Linked DNA regions of Homo sapiens: region 1 is linked to region 2. The links are contacts of gene promoters, found by promoter capture Hi-C in blood cells and fetal thymus (Javierre and others, 2016). All regions are on one chromosome and are shown on one strand. Each heading gives the region's core, a stretch centred on a gene start or on the middle of the fragment in contact. The rest is flanking DNA. Distances are from core to core; before and after follow the strand shown.

Region 1 (2,700 bases), core at 157-2,656, 280 kb after region 2:
TGTGTTAACCTGCAAAAGGGGCACAACACATGTATTCATAGTGATTATACTTGGACATAAAATTCCCCATCTGTTCCTCATACTGGACCTGTATGGTGGCTGATCTGGCAGAAGTCCCTCTGGCTGCAGGGCTGGGGAGGGAGTTGCTTTCTCTTTCCTTTTCCAGTTTTCTCCTTCCCTGCTTGTGGGGTGACGTTTCCAATCTGCTCCAGGTTACGTGTCCAGCCCAAACCTCCTGGGCTTCCTGCCACTGCCATTCCCTCCTCCACATTCAGCCATGTCACCCACATGCTCCTCAACTCCCATGCAGAGACTGACCAGGCATACCACATCTTCCTTGCACTGTGACTTCTACCCTGGCTCCACGCTGGAAACAGAAACACAGTCTTCCTCCACTCCTTCCTGTCTTTTGGCATCCCTCCTTACACGGAGTCATTTCCACAATCAGATGTTTCCCTACTCCCTTAGACTCTTGAAATCCAACCCCATGCCTTCCTCATTAGCACTGCCTTGTACGGTCCCCATCAAATATCACCCAACACAAATGGAACCCCGATCCCTAACTTACAGGCGTTACATACACATCCCATCCTGTTCACCTCTGTAGTCTCTCTATGGGGTGCACCAGCATCGCTTAACCAGTGCAGGCCCCCAACACCCCAGTTACCCCTGCCCTGCGTGGACTGGCCTTAATCTTCTGTTCACTTGGAAAATACACATGTTCTCTGCAAGGTTCAAGCTTCACGTACCATTGGAAGAAAATGTGTCCACGTCTGGAGCTGGGATGACCTCTGGGGTCCAATAGGCGTCACCTGCCTGGTGCCGCTGTGCCAGGAGGCTCTTGGCTGCCACCTGTGGATAAGCCGCAGAAGATGAGTTGAGGGAGGAAAAAGGAGCCGGGAGAGGCCCGCTGGGTCGGCAGCCCCAGAGCTCCAGACGCCAGCCTGAATCCCCCGCCCCTGCAGCCCTCGACCCAGGCACCCTCTGTCGGGAGGGCCCACCCAGTCCCACCCAGTCCCACCCAGTCCCACCCAGTCCCACCCAGTTCCACCCCTGCCCGTACCTGCGAGGTACTATAAGTTCCCTCCCAGCTCTGCAGCAGGAGAGCCTCCCGACAAGCTCAGACCCAGCCGGGCGCTCCTGCAGGGGAAACCTGACTGGACCGGCCTTCCCCGTCCCTGAGGCCGGAGAGATCCCGATCCCATCAGGCCCCTGCCCTTGCTCGGCCTCGCCGCATGAGGGACCCCCGCAGGCCCTGCTCGTTTCTCCGGCACGCCCAGATCACTTGGGGCGGCTCTGGCCTGGTCCTGCGCTCCGGCCGCACCCGGCTAACAGTGAAACCTCCGAGCCAACCTTGAGGCCGCCAGACTCACCTGCACGCACCGGCCAATGGCGGTGCTTCCGGTGGCCGGCGGACGTGCCCGCGCTCCGCGCAACAAACAACTCCCAGAAGGCCGCGCGCCGGTAGCCGTTGCTCCCACAGGCATAGTCATTGCCGGCGGGAGCATGGGGCCCCGCGGCGGCGGGATGAGCTTTTTCCTGTGTTCGCGACTAGCATTGTGGCTTAGGGAGTTGCTTCCCGCGGCTCTGCTCCTTGCAGCGCCTGTCCCCTCCCCCTTAAACGGGCCACGCTGGTTCTCATCCAGCAACCGAAGCCGAGACTGTGGAGGCGGCGGTCGGCGTCCAGGGCGGGACTAGCGCCTATGGGGCTCGGCGCTGTCATCTCGGGTGCCTTCCCGGCGCCTTGCCCTGCTGGGGAGAGAGACCAAGACTGAGCCATGAGAACAGTCCAAGGCCGTTAACCGGGAGCTCAGGGGCAAGGGCGCCCGCCAACATCTGCGCCTGTGGCAGGGACTCAGGGACAGCCTGGGCGTGGGGACGCGTCCTAGTGATAGAAACAAAGCCCCGGGAGTGCCCTGCTTGGAGCATTCCGAGTGGAAGGTGGAAGCACGCTAACTGGAGGCGATTCGTCCTAGGTGATCGCTCAGTCGAGCCTATTTGGCTTTCTGTGGTAGCTCCTAAGTGGGACAGGGAAAAAAATAGGGAGGCTGGCAGTGACCAAGTTCTGTTTTGTACCTATTGCTGCAGAAGTTGTGGGACAGAGTTCTGTTATTATAAATGGTCTGATGTTCAGTCTCAGTGCGTTGTGGGGCTCAATGTCTGAGACCCACCACCGCCTGACCCGTCCTGGCTCTTCAATGAGGGAGACCACAGGAAACTTTCCTACGAAGGCCAGGTAGGCGGGAACCACTGTGGCTCAGGCACCCTCAGCTCCTGGACTGTGCTTTTGTGTCTGGGGTGCATCTGTGACTAGCCTTCCTTGGCTTGACTGTTTTGTAGCTGACCTTGTCGATAGCTTTACCCAACAGTCATCATCTTTTTACTTGCTTATTTTCATACCTGGCTAGCACGACCCTGCAATTTTTAGATTCTTCCGGGAAATCTAGAATCTAACTCCCTAAGGGAGGATCTTGATGGATTCTAAGCTAATCAGAATGGACTCAAGCTTCTTGCTGTGTGAATTAGGCAAGGATATTCTGGCCAAGGAGAAATAAGGCTGCTAGGGGTTTCCTGGGAAGGTTCCCTCAGTCTTTTTTTTTTTTTTTTTTTTTTTTTTTTTTTGTGAGACGGAGTCTCGCTCTGTCCACCAGGCTGGAGTGCAGTGGTACGATCTAGGCCCACGGCACTCTCCGCCTTCCG
Region 2 (2,700 bases), core at 47-2,546:
CATCTGAGGTGGGTCTCCGAGAGGGAGGCCACGTGAAAGCCCCATCATACTCCTGGTTGCTGCTGTCCACGACCTTTAAGGCCCCTCCCATAGATCTTCCAGTCAGGCTCTAAGGGTCTTTTGGACTTAAGACTTCCCCTCCCCGACCTTGATGGACATGGCTGAGCACCTTACTTGTGGGGAGCCCAGGGGGATCTTTGGGGCCAGGTTGCACTGAGGGTATATAAGCCCCCATATATCTGCCCTTGGTGCTGGGGGCAAAGTTCAGGGAGGGCTCCGATGGCCGTGTTGGGGGCAGGAAACAGTGAGGGGTGGGATCCTGGGGCTGACTGCTGGGCGGTTGGGGACACCACCCCTACTGGCCAGCCAGTGTCCCAGGCCCCTGCATCCAGCGGAGAGAGCAGCCACTCTTTGCCCCTCTCCTCTTCAGCACAATAGTGGCTCCTAGCCTAGGTGCCCTGCCATAAGGATTTGGAGCTGGTGGAGTGGGGTATGGCCCCAGGCCATACCCCAGCCTGACCTGCCAGGCTCCTAGGCCAATGGCAGCTCCTCTGGGTTCACCTTCTGAGACTGCTTCCTCAAGGTGAGAGGCCAGGGCTTTCATGATCCAACTGTGTGCATCATGGGCTGACTTCAGTCTCCTGAACCCCAGGACTCCATCGTCGTCAAAGCCAGAGGTGGAGCAGAGAGTCAGAGCAAGCACATGGGTGGGGGGCAGAGCTGGGTTTGAATCCAGGCGATGCCAGTGTTCCTGTATTTACTGAGCACTTGCTGTATGCCTGGCAGGAGGGTACGATTCCTCGGATCATGGGACAAGGGGCTTAGCCTGGCTGAGCCCCTCTCCTCAGGGTTTCAGTGGGTGTCACAGGAGGACCTCCCAATGAGGTCCACCTTGCTGTCCTGTTGCTTTTCTGTTTGGCCTGATTGGAGTGTTCCCAAGGGCAGGGATTTCTGTGCTCTGAGTGTCTGGTACCCAGCAGGGATGGGAGGGGAGGCAAGGGAGTTAGATGCCAGCCCTGGAGGGTGGATGGGGCAAGCAGGACAGCAGGAAGGAGGCTAGTGGTGCCCAAGGGGCAGAGACCTGGGAACCCAGAGGCCAGTGATGGAAAGGGTTAGCGCCAGGCAGAGAGGGGCTGGACCCACACACAAGACCAGGCAGAGCAAACAAACGTAGAGGAGAAGGGCTGGGGGCAAAGTCCTGGGGAGAGGACCAGCCACTGTCAGCAGTGCCAGGGCCACCACCCCTGGGGAGGAGCCATTGGGCTACTCTTGAGGGGCCAGAGGTGAGCCTGAACACTCCACAGCTGCTGCTCCTAGGGAGGAGCTGGTACCATGGGTGTCAGGCAACAGTTGGCCTTGCTGCTGCTGCTGCTGCTCCTGCTCTGGGGCCTGGGGCAGCCAGTGTGGCCAGTCGCTGTGGCCTTGACCCTGCGCTGGCTCCTGGGGGATCCCACATGTTGCGTGCTACTTGGGCTGGCCATGTTAGCACGGCCCTGGCTCGGCCCCTGGGTGCCCCATGGGCTGAGCCTGGCAGCTGCGGCCCTGGCACTAACCCTCCTGCCAGCACGGCTGCCCCCAGGACTACGCTGGCTGCCGGCTGATGTGATCTTCTTGGCCAAGATCCTCCACCTGGGCCTGAAGATCAGGGGATGCTTGAGCCGGCAGCCGCCTGACACCTTTGTAGATGCCTTCGAGCGGCGAGCACGAGCGCAGCCTGGCAGGGCACTCTTGGTGTGGACGGGGCCTGGGGCCGGCTCAGTCACCTTTGGTGAGCTGGATGCCCGGGCCTGCCAGGCGGCATGGGCCCTGAAGGCTGAGCTGGGTGACCCTGCGAGCCTGTGTGCCGGGGAGCCTACTGCCCTCCTTGTGCTGGCTTCCCAGGCCGTTCCAGCCCTGTGTATGTGGCTGGGGCTGGCCAAGCTGGGCTGCCCAACAGCCTGGATCAACCCGCATGGCCGGGGGATGCCCCTGGCGCACTCTGTGCTGAGCTCTGGGGCCCGGGTGCTGGTGGTGGACCCAGGTGAGGGCCTTGGAGCCAGTGGAGAATGGAAGGGGGCAAGGGCAGGGACTATAGGACAGGGGTTCTGCTGGGACTGGCAGAGGCCCTTGGTCCCCACCTGCCTACTTTCACAGGCAATTATAATCAAGACTTATGAGCAGAAAGTAGTTCTCAGGTCATCAGAGTTTAATTTTCCCACAATTTGACCAAAAATACTAATGATGGGATTCTTTACCAAACAACATGGATGCTTTTCTCTACTAGCTGCTCCTCTGCCTGCATCTGTGGGTCTCAGATCCCGCCTCGCAACCTCAAAGGTGAGCCTTGCCTCTGTTTCTCCTCTGACCCATCTCTGCAGACCTCCGGGAGAGCCTGGAGGAGATCCTTCCCAAGCTGCAGGCTGAGAACATCCGCTGCTTCTACCTCAGCCATACCTCCCCTACACCAGGGGTGGGGGCTCTGGGGGCTGCCCTGGATGCAGCGCCCTCCCACCCAGTGCCTGCTGACCTGCGTGCTGGGATCACATGGAGAAGCCCTGCCCTCTTCATCTATACCTCGGGGACCACTGGTGAGGGTGCCCATTAGCCCTAGCACCAGCCTCTGAACTCTCAGGCTGACCTGACCCCACACTTGACTTGTGACTCAGTGTTGACCTCTGAAACCACTTTACCCTCTGATTTTGACATTTGTTTTTTGTTTGG

Evidence for each region. The method cuts DNA at HindIII sites, captures the fragments that hold promoters and counts their contacts. A CHiCAGO score of 5 or more calls a contact.
Region 1: a contact is called between the fragment with the promoter of ZNF544 here and the fragment with the promoter of SLC27A5 in region 2, in 1 of 17 cell types (total CD4 T cells). The highest score is 8.1, in total CD4 T cells.

Annotation. Positions count from the first base shown.
Region 1 is chr19:58,227,620-58,230,319 of GRCh38, reverse strand. ZNF544 (zinc finger protein 544) reads right to left here and starts at 1,406. Exons shown (of 7, transcript NM_014480.4): 1 at 1,374-1,406; 2 at 750-852. RefSeq lists an enhancer at 704-1,530. The HindIII fragment of the contact is 1,767 bases long and covers 742-2,508 here.
Region 2 is chr19:58,510,588-58,513,287 of GRCh38, reverse strand. SLC27A5 (solute carrier family 27 member 5) reads left to right here and starts at 1,296. Exons shown (of 10, transcript NM_012254.3): 1 at 1,296-2,020; 2 at 2,358-2,567. The coding sequence starts at 1,333. It overlaps LOC105372485 (a long non-coding RNA gene), which reads right to left. Exons shown (of 2, transcript XR_001754024.2): 2 at 2,165-2,700. RefSeq lists an enhancer at 1,079-1,593. The HindIII fragment of the contact is 7,866 bases long and covers 1-2,700 here.